Linked DNA regions of Homo sapiens: regions 1, 2 and 4 are each linked to region 3. The links are contacts of gene promoters, found by promoter capture Hi-C in blood cells and fetal thymus (Javierre and others, 2016). All regions are on one chromosome and are shown on one strand. The core of a region is centred on a gene start or on the middle of the fragment in contact, and the rest is flanking DNA. Distances in the headings are between cores, read along the strand shown. Region 1 overlaps LINC01215 (long intergenic non-protein coding RNA 1215). Region 2 overlaps MYH15 (myosin heavy chain 15). Region 3 holds the start of BBX (BBX high mobility group box domain containing). Region 4 overlaps CD47 (CD47 molecule).

Region 1 (3,900 bases), core at 1,223-3,722, 610 kb after region 3:
TTATCATCCCATCACTAGGTAATAGGGGAAAAACACAGGTCTTGGAGCAGGTGTGTGTGCTCAAATGCTTGTGAGGGTGCTAATGAGAGTGTGAGATTGAGGGAGAGGTGATGAAAATACACACTTGAAATTATTTATCAATTAGAAGGTTATGTTTTAATTTTTTAATTAATAAATCTGTTTAAACCCAGAATACCTTTTTCCCAGAGGCAATATTACAAATAAGGATTATATACAAAAGTCAGCATCTAAATCCTTACCTATCTATATATAAGTATTACTGCATTTGCTTTTGGATCCTAACAATAAACTCAGTGCTCATTGACCTTAACAAATAGGGTTTTATTCTTTCTCCCATAAAAAGAAATCTGTAGGTAGGCAACTATCAGCATAGGTTCAGGGTTTTAGCAACAGATCTTTGTGATTCTCTTGCTACTTTCCTTGTAGTTACAGAATGGCTGTTGTTCCAGGCATTGTCTTCAATATTATTTGGAGGTAATTCATCAGGAAATATAAAACTCTCTAAGTAGTCTCCCCCAGAAGAATTCCATGTACATTTCATGGGCCAGACAGGATGACATGACTGTCCCTAGCTTCAAGAAAGATGGGCAAACCACATATTTTATTTTCCAGCCTCTGTGCTGGGAGGCAGCAAGGGAGAAGGGGTTAGACATAGCTTTTAGGTAGCTTGCCAATAGGGAATGGTACTTAGACCTAAAAGATAGCAGTACTAGTTTTCTAGAGGTTAAAATAATACTCGATGTTCTCAAGCATGAGCAGAAATATCCTGCGTTCACTCCTTTACTACTCACTTCCGCTTTCTAATAAAAAGAATTTGATAAATATAATGAGCATCTCAGTATATTTGCCAGGTGAGTGTGGATTCTACACGTTTGTGCTTTAGCAAAATAAATTACTACTTTGAATTTTAATAGACTTATGTCTTAAAATCCAGTCATTGGATAGATTTAAGGTGAAATGCTGTTGATACATTACTATTCATTGTAGGATTAACCCAACAATCCACCACAATTTAAATGAGAATTTAAAAATCAAATTAACAGTGAGTTATAATGAAAGGTAAGAATGGCAGAAATGGAAATCTCCAGCCCACTCATGATAACAACACTCAAAATGTATAGCCTATTTACTAAAAATTACAGAAGTTCCAAACTATCTCCTTGTCTCTAAGTGAGTCACATGCCAGAATTAACAGTTCTTTGGTGCTATGCAATCTTCTTAGTATAGCACAGAATTAAGTCATTGGTAAACTGTAATAATGTGCTAATTTTAGATCATTATGCCATAATGTAGTAATCCTTAGTAAATACTTAGTAAGTTACTAGAAAGTAGCTCTTCATCATATGCAAAAAATAAAACTGAAGACATTGCATGTCATTGGCTTCCAAGAATTGGAGAAAGGAAATTTTAGAGTCAGTTTTTGGTTCATCTATAGGACAGTATGTTGGATCATATTGTAAAGAATTGAGATGCATAGATGAGAGCACTAGTTTGAAATCAACAGCTGGATTTGACTCCATTCCACCTCTGACAACTTAGGACAAGTGTCTTAAGCCCTGCATAGCCCAGTTTCCTCATTATTAGACTGGCAACTACTAACACAGAAACTATTCTACTTACAATATGGTTGTAATTGAATCTGTTTGTTGGAAATTCCAAAGTGACTAAGCTTGCTGTCACAAATGCACTTCCAGGAATAGGAGCATGAATCAGTTTCTCAAAGCTTTTAATAAAAGCTGGTGTTCTTGTTTATGCATGTTCAATGCCATGTCTGCCTAGGTGATAAAATAATGTTTGGTGCATAGAAGGCACTAAAAATATAGCTTTTGAATGAGTGAAGGACATTTTCCCCAAAATTATTGTCATTTGTCATTTGTCTCTGCTGGAAGTCTGTGGGGGCAGATAACTGTTCTTGGGGATCTCCCAAGTGTCCTGAGGAGGTCCTTAGGAGCCACAGCCTGCATTCTCGTCGCCTCGCCCCTCATGTGGATGTGAACCAGACTGGAAGAGGCATCCCTTTGCCTTGAGGCAACAGTTTCAAGAGCAGAGTCTCTTTGGCCAGCTCTTAAACTTCTCCCAAGTTAGCCCTCCCCGGAATGAACAGGAGGCTCCTCTGCCCATCTAGTGTCAAGGTGCCGACTCAAGAAGTCATCCTTTGTCTTCCTCTTCCATTCTCTTGCTGATATTGTCCACGGACACAGGCACAGCACTTTTGTACGTTGCACGATTTGCTCTTTGCCCTTTATAATCATTTCTACTATTGAATAATTCATCCTATATTCGTGTGAAGAGTTCCTCTTTTTCTCATCACTTCCAGTTTTTAAAAATCTCTTCTGTTTCCATGGTAATTGTATATATCAACAAGGACTTTGAACACTCTCCATTTTCTTGGATTTATTGAATCTGATGTGGTTAATAATGCTTGGGAAAACTTCTCAAAAAAAACTCTCACAAACACAGCAAATGCATTGATGGTGAACAGCACAGTTTTTGAGTTCAAAAGGCAGCAGTGTACATTCCATATCATCTGCTGTTACCATGTAGTATGTTCTCACAGGAGAGCTTGGGATTTTATCTGTGAATATCCATAGGTTGAAAGTTGGTAAGCAAAAGAACATCTGTAACTAACCTACTCTTTTTCTGCAGGTTTGTTGTTGGGATAAAAGTTAACGTGCTCTAGTGCACTGTAGCCTATAAAATGTTATCCTTTCTGTGACGCATGCCCCATTTCCACCATGCCATGTGGGGACACAAGGAACAGATCTTTGTCCACAGGAAAAGTGGAAACTCAGAGTTGAATTTCCTCTTCACTCCAAAGCATGACTATGCATGCACACACACACACACACACACACACACACACACACACACGTGCGCGCACACACACACATGCACTCAAACTCCTAAGAGCTGGAGGCAGGGATCCTGGCTCAGAGTTAGAGCTCTCACAACAGGAAGGATAGAGACAAAATTCCTAGTTGCTGATCACTTGCTAACTCTCTTCATTTTCAGAAGAAAACACCTCCTGGCATTTGCTTAATGGAAGGCACCTTTCTAGTCAATCACTTGACAAGTGTTCTGAATTGGATTTTAAAAGGACAGAGGTTGAGATTAGGGTTAGGGATTTTTATTACATCTCAAAGTGCCTGTATAAATTACACAGTGGGGATTTTCAGTTGAAAGCTTTTCCAGTTAATAAACAGGAGACTCATGTATCGGCATTTTTGTAATGCTATAAGAATGGGGAAGTGTAGGTTCTGGCACGTATTCATGTAAACAAAAAGTGAGTGACGAATTTTTACCTTGAGTTTTAGAATCACACTCTTATAAATAATTTACATACAAGGAGAGATCATAGAGATAACCTGTAGAAAAACAGAAAGATGAATTTTTTCCAGCTAAACTTGTCTTGGTGCAGAACTATCTTGGGCATATCAGATTTTATAAAGATACTTTTCCTCTTACATTTCACACTTCACTTTCACTATCCAGAAGCCAAGTGGAGGCATTTTCCCTGATGAGTGGGAGTTGTAAGGACTAGCTCAAGAGTAGAATAGGCTTAGGCAAAACTATAATGTAGGGGAAATCATCCATGTAACCTGAATCCTATTTTAGTGTCTTGAGCCTAAGCCCTATCTTAATCCCCAGAACCCCAAAGTTCTGCAGACAAAAAGTTCCCCATAGAAGTGGCCTCCTGATCTTTAAACAGAGCCATGGGCTTAATCTTCCTTTTGCTGCCATCTAAAATTTAATAATTCTAATATTCATTTCCTCAGGGCCTTAGCTTGTGGACAAGCTAATGTATGCCAACATACCCAGAGTTCTTATGATCTAAAAGTGTTATTCTCCTGGGTAAGTGGTAAGTAGTTTGCATTTCAA
Region 2 (3,925 bases), core at 1,220-3,719, 960 kb after region 3:
AAGGTGAATATTATGGTGTATGAATCTTCTAAAAGAGGACTAGTATCAAGAAACAGAATCTTTTAAAAATTGAGATATAATTTGTCTGAAGGACATGGAAAATGCCATCTTTATAATTTGTTTTCTCTTTCTATGTATGTACTTGTGGACTCTTTCAACAAAACACGGACTTGGGCCATGTAATCTGATAATTATAGACAAGCACCAATCAACAGAAGCCAGGACACTTGCCAGCTATCTGTAAAACACCCTTCCTTTCCCGGCAAGGTCTCTGTTTGCTCCGTAGTGCCCTCTGCTGCCCAACAATAATACTTACACCCCACAAAATTGTTTTATGAAACAAAGCTTCCATTTCCTCAAGAAGTGGAGAATAAGTATTATCAGAAGGAAAAGTAAATAGGCATGTATCACTTCAGGTATGAAAAAATGACACAAAATAATGACACAGGCAAAAATTTATAAGCTTATTTCAAATTGTAGATTATTTCAGTTACCAACAAAATAAATATTCCACTCATCCAAAACCCCTCTCTGCTTTCTATTTTAAAGGAATTTGGAGATATGCTAGTATGTCTGGCATAGTCATTCTGTTGAATAATGTCTTATAATAGAAGGTAATGCAGCCTTTCTTTAATTCACTAAAGAAAAAAAAAGCTGCAAATTTTCCAGAGCAATAATCACGAACAGAAAATAAAGTAAAAACAAAACACAATTAGAGAGCTCTATCTCGTCTGTATTAGCAATATCAATTTCCTTTTCACAGCCTTTAAAATGTTTACAAGGCTTAAAATGTTTGAAATGTTTGATTTTCTTATAAACTAAAATCAATATATATAATACATACATTGCTACAAGTTACATACCTACTTTATGTTAGTTTATTTGCAGTGATAATAGCCTGGGTACTTGGTTGCTATGAAACCTTTCAAAACACAAAGCCTATTTGGAAAAATAAATGAAAATCAAAGGTAGAGCAGACATGCCCATCCTATACTGAGATGTGCCTGCTAACAGTGCCAGGTTTGGCGGCAAAAGCTTGATAATTTCAAATTGAGAATCCAGTATGTCAAATCATAGACTTTTTGAACTGAAAGAGACTTTATAGAGTATCTAATCCAATGTGAAAATATTTAAAAGACGGGAAGAAATACAATGTGCCTGGCAACCTGAGTGGAGATGAACAGTAACCAACAATGTGAAAAACAATTTTCCAGTATCTGTCCAGGTTTAAAAAAAAAAAAAGAGAAACATTTGTTTTTTCTAAGCTTTGGAAGCATGAAGAGAGATAATACAGGTAATAATAGTCTCAAAGAATAGTTCCCCATGCCGAGTCTTCATATATCCTTTTTCCAGTGTTAAGCACAGTCCTTTGAGTCTATTTTTATCCATGAACAAAAGAAATTCAGATTCTCTGAGGAGTATCCCACCTTAAGCTTAACAGAAATAGCATCTAACATTACAGGATTATTTGTCACTTACTCCAGAGATAGTTGAGTATCTACAGACAGGACTAGTGTACCCTGGATTTACTCCAGAGATTTACATTATACATCACATATGTTCTCTGTTTTGGGGGGAAAGAGGAAACAATAGAGGTCATCATGTTCCAAAAAGTAAATTACTTCATTTGCACTAAATGTTTACAGTTTGCAACCAAGATGAAAATGGCGTAAATCTATGACTAAATGCCCATCTGACATTCAGGAACTACTGTTGTAAAGATAGCAATATGTGTAAACATATTTTAATCATATTCCCAAATAGGCTTTATGAAATTCCCACCCATAAGCATCAGTTCCTTCAGGACCTTGTGAATGAACCCATGGACTTCAATTAGGCTGCATGATCTTACCTGGGAGAGGTAACATTTAGCTAGAGAGGTGGTTCTCAAGCATCAGTGTGTATTGGAATAGCCTGGAGAGCTAATCAAAGATTAAACAACAGGCTCCCTGAAGCAGGTTAGGGGCTGGGCCGCTCTAGTTTTATCGTGTTACCCAGGTGATTCTGATACACATACAAGTTTGAGAACAAAGTTGTTATTGTGGTAGTCCTCAACTTTGACTGCACACTGGGGTCCCTGGCAAGTTGTAAAAACAAATACTGATGCCTGAAATTCACCCACAGAAATCTGGCTTGTCTGGCTTGGGTAAGGCCTGAGCTTCAGGATTTTAAAAGTTCCCCAGCGATTCTGTTGAGCAGCCAAGTTTGCAAACTACTGTCTAGAGAATAATAACCAGGTTTCGTAAGTTTATTTTGAAATCAGGAAGATGGAAAGAACAAAGTATGACTTCACCTGAAAACAGGTAAAAAGGTAGAGAAACTCAAAAAGGAATCTTTTCCAAATTTCCAATTCTGTCCCAGTTCAGTCCCATCTGCAAATAACCAGATATGAAAGAATGAAGCAAAATCCAGTTTTGTCAGTCTACAGGGGTTATGATAAAGATATTAATCTCTTTTATGGAAGGTTATAATACAATTTTTGAGCTGTTCATATTTCATTAATTTATTAAACAAAGTTAACTGAGCATTTGCTATGTGTAAGCCCTGATGCTAGATAATGTAATAAGAAGATAAATAAACAAGGCAAAAATCCCTGGCATCAAGAAATTATAATCTATGAGAGTAAATAAGACATGGGAAAAAATAGTATGTCAGTAAAACAACTGCATAAGAGACACACAAATCGAGTATCACAAAACTGTGAAGTAGGGAAAGAGCCCTTCTGGACTGCATGACTGGGGAAGGATTAAAAAAGAAACAACATTCAATCTGAGCCTTGAAGGATGACAAGAGTTTTTGTAGGCAAATATGGGAGAAGAAGAGTTTCCTTAACAATGAACAGCACGACTTGAAGCCACAGGCGTTGAAGAGTACAAGGTATGGTCAAAGAAGAGGTTGTAACCCAGAGGGACTGGACTACGATACCAGGGAGTGAGTGAGAAACTGAGAAAAGCGGGTGACTTCTGGTCGCAGAAGACATCTAATGCCGCTATAACATATTAATTAAAGAATGGGGAAATGTTAAAGGAGCTGTAAGCAGAGAAATGACATAATTAGAGTCATGCTTTAGGATGCTTAATTTTGGAAATGTGCAAGACAGACCAGAGTAGGAAGTTTTAAAGTACAGAGTGAACCCATTGCAGAATGCTGAAGTGTGAGATGCTGAAGCTCCAAATTTGTAATGAGAAAGGGAGAAAGAGAGACTGAGAAATATGACTAGGAGGTTTCCAGTCTGAGAAGTAGAAAGAAGAACAATACCATAAATATGAATAGAAATGCCAATAGGAAGACATCACTTAGGGGAGAAGATGATGGACTTTTAGCCATGCAGAGTTTAGGATACTAGAAAATATGCAGCTGAGAGTTGGAAATATGGAGTTGGAACTCAAGAAAGAGGCAAAGGCTAAGATGCCCCTTTGGGTTTGGGTGCCCTTCCCCGTTCCTTCTTCTCCATCTGTCCAGCTCCTTCAAAACCTTCCTAAATAATTAACTGGGAAAAATTTACCAAAGCTTAATATATTAAGAACCCTTAGAATTAAAGAAAAATTCAACACCTCCATTTTTAAAATGAGCTAAAGGTAGAAGCATACTGAAAAAAACTCAGTATCCAGTAAGATGCTTAAGTTAATTATGGTACATTCATACAATGGAATATTTTGTAGCCATCTAAAAAGATATTGCAGAAAAGACAAAAAGATGTTCACATATAATTTGGTAAAAAAATACTAGGCTGAAACAACATGAATATGATCACATTTTTATTTTAAAAAGTTATATGTGCATATTCAACTAGAAAATGCGTAAAAAATATGTCCTTTGGCATTCACAGTGATTGTCTCTGAGTAGGTAGGGTTCACTTAATGAATAATTAGCCATTACTATGTGCCAGGCACATTTTAAAACCTGGAAATATAGCAGTGAACAC
Region 3 (4,239 bases), core at 1,541-4,040:
GAATTTTTAATGTGTACATGAATATACATATTGAGACTACATGCTCAAACATTTTACTGATAGCAATGTGTGATCTAAAAGTTTGAAGACCGTACCTCTAAATAATTCTGCTAAGCTAAGTGTAATTCAACAAAAATATCTTGTGACCATAAAAATATGAAGAATGTTTTCCTATGGTTGGAGGTTGGGGATAAGAGTGGGGAGTAGGATAGGCTTTTCTATTTTTCACAACATAGTTCTACTAGCAAATAATGCACAACACTTCACTCTGCAATTAAATGTAGCAACTCCTGTCGACTTTTTTTCCTTTTCAAAAAGGAGCACAGTGAAATTCTAAGAAAGTTTTTTTGGTTTTCCCTCCAATTCCCTCTTGCCTCTGAAGTTCATGATTTGGAGGGAAGGGTTGTCAAATTACTCAAAACCTGTGCTGGGTATTAAAAGTCCTCGGTTTAAGTTCCTTCTTCATTATCATTCTGTGCAATATGGAGCAGGCTATATAACTTGTCCCTGACTCATTTCTCCTATGGGTAAACTAGAGGTGATAATACTTAGCACTGACCTCAGAGCAGTGTAGTGTGGATAAAGAACATTTTGTTCCTTGTGTCAACTAAATGAAACTGCCATTAATAGACTTTTTTTTTTTTTTTGAGACGGAGTCTCGCCCTGTCCCCCAGGCAGGAGTGCAATGGTGCAGTCTGTACTCACTGCAACCTCCACCTCCTGGGTTCTAGTGATTCTCCTGCCTCAGCTTCCCGAATAGCTGGGATTACAGGTGCCACCACTACGTTCAGCTAATTTTTGTATTTTTAGTAGAGACGGGGGTTTCACCGTGTTGGACAGGCTGGTCTCGAACTCCTGACCTCAGGTCATCCACCCGCCTCCATCTCACAAAGTGCTGGGATTACAGATGTGAGCCACCGCGCCCACCCCTAATACAAACTTTGATATTATCTGTTTAAAATGCTGTGATTGGCTGGGCGCTGTGGCTCATGCCTGTAATCTCAACACTTTGGGAGGCCGAGGCAGGTGGACCACCTGAGGTCAGGAGTTCGAGACCAGCCTGACTAACATGGTGAAACTCTGTCTCTACAAAAATACAAAAATTAGCCAGGCATGATGGCAGGTGCCTGTAGTCCCAGCTTACTCGGGAGGCTGAGGTGGGAGAATCTCTTGAACCCGGGAGGCGGAGGTTGCAGTGAGCTGAGATCACGCCATTGAACTCCAGCCTGGGCTACAGGGTTAGACTCCATCTCAAAAATAAAATAAAATAAAATGCTGTGATTTTTTATATACTTTTCCTTTTAAAAATGATTTTTCTAAAAAAATAAACATCACATTTCTAAATACCACTTTGTTTTCTGAACTTTTTAAACTTTTCTGATTTTGTTTCTCTTTCTCCCTCTTACACAGGAGTGCTCACATGCACACATACACTCTTTTAACAACTTTATGGATGCGAGAGAAAAACCTTAAGACAGCATCAAGGAAATAAAAGGGGAACTGAAATAAGTTGCCCTAGTTGGGTTTTCTTTAAGTTTTAAAGCTACTTACCTAGGCCATAAAATCGTAGTGTTTATGTAATCTCCAAAATGTTTGTATTTGAGAATAATTCACCAACTCTTAAAACGGAAGGAACCCTAAGAAAACATCTAGGCCTAAGATAATGCCTGACACATAGTAGATGCTGAATAAACATTTAATTGAGGGAATCTGGAAAAGCTTCTTATTTTAATCTTAAAAATCAAAACCAAGTCTGAGCATTGGAGAGGTTAAGTAACTTGCTCAAGATTGCTCAGCTGGTTAAAGAGTTTAATCTACAATTTATTCCTTCTAATTTCCAGCTTTGACTTCTTTCCACCAACCTGTTGACTTATGTGTATTGAACTGTCTCATATAATCTTCTGAAGTTGCATTGTTGAAAAACAATCAGAAAGACCAGTCCTGAGGTTCATCATCTCCAAAAGTCATGCAACATATGATGTTCACATGAGATGTGAAATATGTAAAGAGTCATATATTTTTATATATAATATGCAAAATATAAATCATGTATATATTGAATCAAAGGTCTGTTTTGAAGGCTAAGGGTCAATAGCCAATCTTCCATGACTTATTTTACCTAACAGCACAGTTTGCATGTCCACACAGGTGATGGCAGTCCACTGACCAGTTAAAAGTTGTTTGGCTATTTCAGCAAAATGTTTATCTTTGTGTGTTGTTATATTGATTTTTTTGAATCTACCTACGAATGAGGCACTAACAACCTCAATGCATTAGAGTCCTGATAAACTTATCTTGCACTATTTTGGCCTATGTGATAGCTAACCCATTGACAAAAGAAATCCAAGGTGATAAAAGCCTTTCTTGGCCACTTGTTAGCCGGGTCAGGCTGTAAAATCGTAACACAATGCAGGCCTCTTCCATGGGGCACCAAAAGGCAGCGATGAAAAACCCCCCTCACTTCCATATCCAGTGGAGTTGTAGTTTATTACCATAACCCTCCCAAGTCAAAAGGACACCAGTTTCAAGCCTTGCAACTTGGTGCAGACAGGGGTTTTCCCCTTTACCCCACTCTGCTGGGCCTCTTTACCTGTCCTCTCCTACTGTCTACAGGTCCCGAACATTAGAAAATAGAAAATGTGATGATCTTTGTGTGTCTCTGTAAAATGTGTGTATGTGTGCGTGTGTTTGGGTGTAACGGGCCTCTTGTTTGGCTGCGCGGCCTGTCCGTCACTGCGCGGGCCAATGGCAGGCTGCCTTATATAAAATGAGTGTTTTCAGTCTCTCCGGGTTGCATGTACTGTATGTGGAGCAGTGTACAGTGAAGCGGAGGCAGAGCGGCTCCGCGAGCTTCTCTCCACTTTCCCATAGAGAAACCCTGACTGGCCGCTGAGGGCTAGCTACACACACGCCCTCACGCCCGGCGAGCCCGCGAGGTAGGCGCCCCCCATCCCCAGCCCTCCCTGGGCGCACTCCCCTCACTTTCTGTTTTCCTACTCACTTGCGAGCCGCCGGGCTGCAGCCCCAAGGACTCCGCGGCAGGAGCAGCGGCGGCGGCGGCGGCGGCGGCGGCGGCAGCCGGTAGGGTGGACTTGAGGAAGACGGAGGGAACCCCGCGCGTCCGGAGCCGCCGCCAGCCGGCCCGCTCCCTGGGCACTTTCCCCCTCCGCCAAAACTTTGGGTCGGGAGAGGTCGGGGGCGAGGGTCGCGGCGGCCGCGCCGGCTGGGGCCGGGGGGCGGGGGGCGCTGAGGCAGTGCCCTGCGAGCGGGAGGCTGGGGGCCGGGCTGGGGAGTAGTAGGCCAGCCGGTGCCAGGCTGCGTTTGCAACCAGCACCTCTCGGCACACAGGCAGCGCCGCCTGAGAGGGGCACGGGCGCCGGGGCGCGGGCTGGAGCGGCCCCAGGAAAACAACAACAGAGCCCTCACGCCGGCGGGCGGCTCGTGGCCGCCCGGGGAGCCCCAAACTTCATCTCGGCGAAAGTACGTGGAGCCCTGCCTGGTCTCGGCTGCCGGGGAGGTGGGGCCTGGGGAGCAGGGGCAGTGGAGGAAGGTACGAGGAGCCAGCCTTCGGTGGATTTATTGAACGTTTCGTCTGCGTTGGTGACCGGGAACAGCAGCCCAGTTGCTCGTTCATCTGGAGAGTTGGGATTTGGGTGTTCCGGCCCCGCAGATCAGTGCCCTCTCACCCCCCACCCCTACCCAAATGCGCGGCGAGTAGAGAAAGTGCTGTTTTAGTGCCAGAGTAGCCTGGAGGAAGAATAGGGGGAGAGGGGGAAGAGGGCGAGGGAGAAGGGGAGAGAGAAGAGGGAGGGAAGGGGGGGGAGAGAGGGAGACAGAGAGAGAGGGAGAGAGAGAACGGGAGGGAAGAGAGGAGGGGGAAGAGGAGGAGGGAGGCTGTGTCAGGATTTTGCTTGAATGTGGGATTATGTTGTGTCAATAAGTTTAAGGTGGAGAGAGCGAGGCTGAGGGTGGTGGTGGAGGGGAGGAGGAAGGCCTTGGCCGTTTAAAGTCTTATTTCTGAAGGTAAGTTACGGCTTTGCCTGGTCGCGATGACAGAAAACTTGCAGATCCTTTATCCGGGGATGGGGTCGATGCCTCTAGAAAGAGCTCCCTAGCCCTCTTAAGCCACACTCGTGTTACACTGTTATTTGCTGCGATCCGGGTCGCTAGTAAATTACAGAAATCAGACTCGAGGTTTCTTTTCCTCCTCCACCTCGTCTCGCTCACTCACCCTCTGAA
Region 4 (3,851 bases), core at 9-2,508, 560 kb after region 3:
AGTTTAAAGTATAAATTCCATAGAAGAAAAATCTAAAAATCATGTGGGAGAAGATAGATTTTTCTTCTGTATTTCAAGAGAACCTGCCACTGCTTCTCACTTGTATAGACTTGATTATGAAATCATGAAGCTGCATATTTTCATGGAAAATCTCAAGTCACTTGTATGGTTGGATAGAAAAGTTCCTTAAAAATCACAAGAATGTGTCTATGAATGATCTTCCTAGAGGGTGATGTTTAAACTGGGTCTTAAAGGATGAGTAAGAATGTTATGGGAAAGAAGGGGCTTTCTAGGCAGAGTAACGTGTACAGCCAGATAAAGAAAGTGAAGAACTGAAAGCAGAGAATTATTTAGGTGAGCTCTAGGAAATGAGGTTGGAAAAGATGAATAAGAAAAATTCTAAAGGGCTTCCTTGAATGTCATGCTGAGTTTAGACTTGATAACATAAACAACTGTAAACCACTCAGATTTAATTTCATTAAAAAAAAAACATTGACAGCAGTGTAAAGGAAGGACTGAGGGCAGCAAGGGAAAAGAGAAAGGGAGATCCGTTAACAGACTACTGCAATAGTCCAGGTAAAGAACAACTGGAGAGAAGACCTAAAACTTACAGTAATCAACAGAAGTTAGTTGTGGGAAGCAGGGGAGATAAAGAGGGGAAAATTAAAATTGTGAACCAAAATAGTATGTGTAGCTAGTTAGATGGTAGGCTAATTATAGAGAAAAGAGGCTTAAATATTTGGGGAGAATATCTTTCCATCTGTCAATGGACTAGTGAGATCTGATGCACACTATGTTTGAGAAATGAGAGAGAAACAAGATGGCTTTATCAAGCACTTAAAATATATTAAGTGGCAGTGATTCTTTTACAATAAATTTGGCAGTGTAAGAAAGCAGAGAAGGCAACAACTGACAATGTGCAGGCAGGAACAAGGGCAAGGACATTTTGGTTCTTGAGGTTTTTTGTTTTATTTTTTAATATGGGGTAAAATTTGATCATGTGTGCAAGCTACGGGGAAGGAGTCAATGGAGAGGGAAAGATCTAAGATGCAAGACTGAAGAATTATGCTGACTGAGCAGGTCTCCAAGATGGTAGAAGTGAAAAGGTGGTAGACAGGTTGTCCTTTCGTTGGAAAAGTGAGTAGGTTTTCTTCTGAAGCTGGATGACGGAAGAGAATGAGACGAAGGTTATCTAAGATGTTATAGATCAGTTTAGTAATGGTGGGAGGGAAGCAGAGGGAGTCCAAACCACACACCACTATTTTTTGCAGTAGAGTAGGAAGTTAATTATCTGCTGGGAATGGATGTTCAGGAATGGAGTAAGAAGTCTCAGCAGCCTCTTAGGTAAAGAAGCAAAGATCATCAGTAAAGACACATGCCAGAAAGCAATCCTACCTACTTTTGCCCCTTAGAACTAGTGTCTGGCTTGAAGAACTGGAGTCTCTAGCTACACTGGGTTACGTACAAAAAGGATGAAGTCAGATCTCTCCTCAATGGACACTAAAATAAAGGTCTGGGGTAGAGTGGGGTGTCCACAAGTTGTACTTAGTTCTGACCCAACGCAATCCCCCTAATGAATTTAAAAGTGGCCTTATAAGAATGGAAGAGGCCAACTTAGAATTAAAAAGGGCAGGGCAGTTTAAAGTCAATAACATCCAGAATTATGGCCTTAACAAGCACCTAAGTACCATGAGGGAATAAAAACAAGATATCCCTACTGTCTATATACTACATCTTAAGTCATTAAGAGACATACTGACATACTGTCTGAAATTTGTCTATATGCCAAAGAGGGCTTTGCAAACTGCTTGGTGTGTAGTATAGGCTCATACTTGCTTGAAATGGAAAAAAGTGGTTTTGACAGGCCTTGAACTAGCCAAACCCCTTGCTTTACCTTTTAACCTACAAGTGTGATATATATTCAAATATGCACATTAATTCTCCTAATCTGAATCTCAAACCATGAGATTGACCAGATTCTGAGTCTTATGCAACTGCTCCATGGATTTGGAATGAAATATTCAGAGGTGGGTGTAGCTTGATTTCTGTTTCAACACTGTATAATCGTAAAGAGGAAAAACCCAGATTCTATTGTCTTAGTCTAGGTATATCAGAATCAAATTTCCTGGGTGCTCTGTATTTTCTACTTTAGTACTACAATGAGTTTAACAAAACTGATCCTACACTATTATTCTTGTTCTTTTTATCACAGAAGAAATATCTACACTAGTATACAAAGTGAAAGTAACTTTATGATAACCCAAGACGATATTATTAAAATCAGACTGAGAGATAAGATATGAAAATAGAAATGTTTATCTTGTATAAAAAGGTAGGCAGAAACCTAAGACAGGGAAAGTGATTGAAAATTATGCCACAAAAAGAACATTACTATATTAAAAGCAATGCCTATATACTAGCTATAGCTGAATTCATACTATGAAATGCAAATCTAGTTTTGCGAATATGCGTGATTATTTTGGATTTAGAATATGTATCAATTTGGGGGGAAAGTCATCTATCTCTCATCTTTAGAACTTGGCCTTTCAAATCTCCATGAACAACTCAGTGACAAAGATAAAACATCTGCCAAAACACAGATGACAGCATGAGCAAGTGTCCTAATGGTAGGCATTTAGTGTAATGCTTTAAAAAACACTGCCTCTAGACTGCTGGGGCGGCCCCATAAATACGTACTTTTAAATAGGCATTTACTTCCTTAAAATGGCAACTTGTAATTAAAAATAATATATTCTTTAAGAGAAAACATTTTTATTTAAACAAGCCAAATTACTACTAGACTTAGACGATGGAAAAAAATTTTATTTAATCATATGTACCCTGATTTAAAAAAAAAAACAACTCATTTTGAACAAAGAGGAATCATTCAACCACTGAAAAGACAGTTCACAACACCATCATTATTTATTTAAAGTTTTATTTGCTAGCTAATAAATACCACTGAAACTATGCACTTTTAAACAAAGTATAATTGTACATGAGTGGGGGCAGAGTGGAATGCAACATAGTAATTCATTTCACATCTTGCATACCATTAAGGTGCCTTCCAGTTTGCCTGTAATTGCATGAAATGAGTATCTGAGATAACTTCTTTTACCACAAAGGCCACTAACACTGTAGAGGGTGCCAGGAAAGGTCCCTGATTCCCGGGGCTTAATTAACGAAACTGAAAGCAAAATCAAACTTCAATACAAATGAATGTACAGATCCATCACTTTCTTACTCATTCTAGATTCTAAAGTCAGTCTCTCAAACCCTTGGTTTATAACTACCTATGTGCTGAGACATCTTTCTTCATACATGTCCTTTTGAAGCTATATATTAAACACATACAAAAACATATTTTATAACAAATACTATCCTGTTTTACAGTCCACACTTAACACAACTCAACTGCATAATGCCTGTATTTTGCTTTTTTTTTAGGTTAATATTAACTAAGTAAAATAAAATACTATAAATTCTGAATTCGATGACTCTAGGGATTCGAACACATTAAAATTGTGTGTAAACGAGTGCTAATTACATGATATTAACTATTACTAAAGAAGGCCTAACATAAATCCTATCACTCAAAGTACCATTCCAACAGTTCTAAACTACGTGATTTAAATCTAACCTACCTGTTTTAAAAATAGTATATGGTTTATACTTTTTACTTTTTAGGCAGTTTGAATAAATGATACTGTATCACTTCATATCTGGTTCAATATGAAGGCGTTCTGAAATTATTATGCGATTATACAACACATCTCTGAAAGCAGTATTATTTTAGCTATAATGATAGTAAAGGCAACAAGCATACTAAACGTGATGACAGGAAACACTAA

Evidence for each region. Contacts are between HindIII fragments. The CHiCAGO score rates a contact against its expected background, and 5 or more counts as called.
Region 1: a contact is called between a fragment that was not itself captured here and the fragment with the promoter of BBX in region 3, in 1 of 17 cell types (fetal thymus). The highest score is 5.1, in fetal thymus.
Region 2: a fragment that was not itself captured here is called in contact with the fragment with the promoter of BBX in region 3 in 4 of 17 cell types (M0 macrophages, M2 macrophages, total B cells and 1 more); the score reaches 8.6 in M0 macrophages.
Region 4: a contact is called between a fragment that was not itself captured here and the fragment with the promoter of BBX in region 3, in 1 of 17 cell types (fetal thymus). The highest score is 7.4, in fetal thymus.

Annotation. Positions count from the first base shown.
Region 1 is chr3:108,129,635-108,133,534 of GRCh38, forward strand. All of the region lies in intron 1 of LINC01215 (long intergenic non-protein coding RNA 1215), which reads left to right. Among named protein-coding and RNA genes, the nearest start is that of LINC01215, 6.5 kb to the left of the region's middle. RefSeq lists an enhancer at 1,421-2,620. The HindIII fragment of the contact is 1,460 bases long and covers 1,743-3,202 here.
Region 2 is chr3:108,477,452-108,481,376 of GRCh38, forward strand. The region is part of intron 11 of MYH15 (myosin heavy chain 15); the gene reads right to left. Among named protein-coding and RNA genes, the nearest start is that of MYH15, 31 kb to the right of the region's middle. The HindIII fragment of the contact is 2,077 bases long and covers 1,432-3,508 here.
Region 3 is chr3:107,520,172-107,524,410 of GRCh38, forward strand. It overlaps BBX (BBX high mobility group box domain containing), which reads left to right and starts at 2,791. Exons shown (of 18, transcript NM_001142568.3): 1 at 2,791-2,936. RefSeq lists an enhancer at 2,408-2,457 and silencers at 2,858-3,167, 3,198-3,287, 3,398-3,467. The HindIII fragment of the contact is 5,936 bases long and covers 1,718-4,239 here.
Region 4 is chr3:108,085,776-108,089,626 of GRCh38, forward strand. All of the region lies in intron 1 of CD47 (CD47 molecule), which reads right to left. Among named protein-coding and RNA genes, the nearest start is that of CD47, 3.3 kb to the right of the region's middle. The HindIII fragment of the contact is 6,383 bases long and covers 1-3,851 here.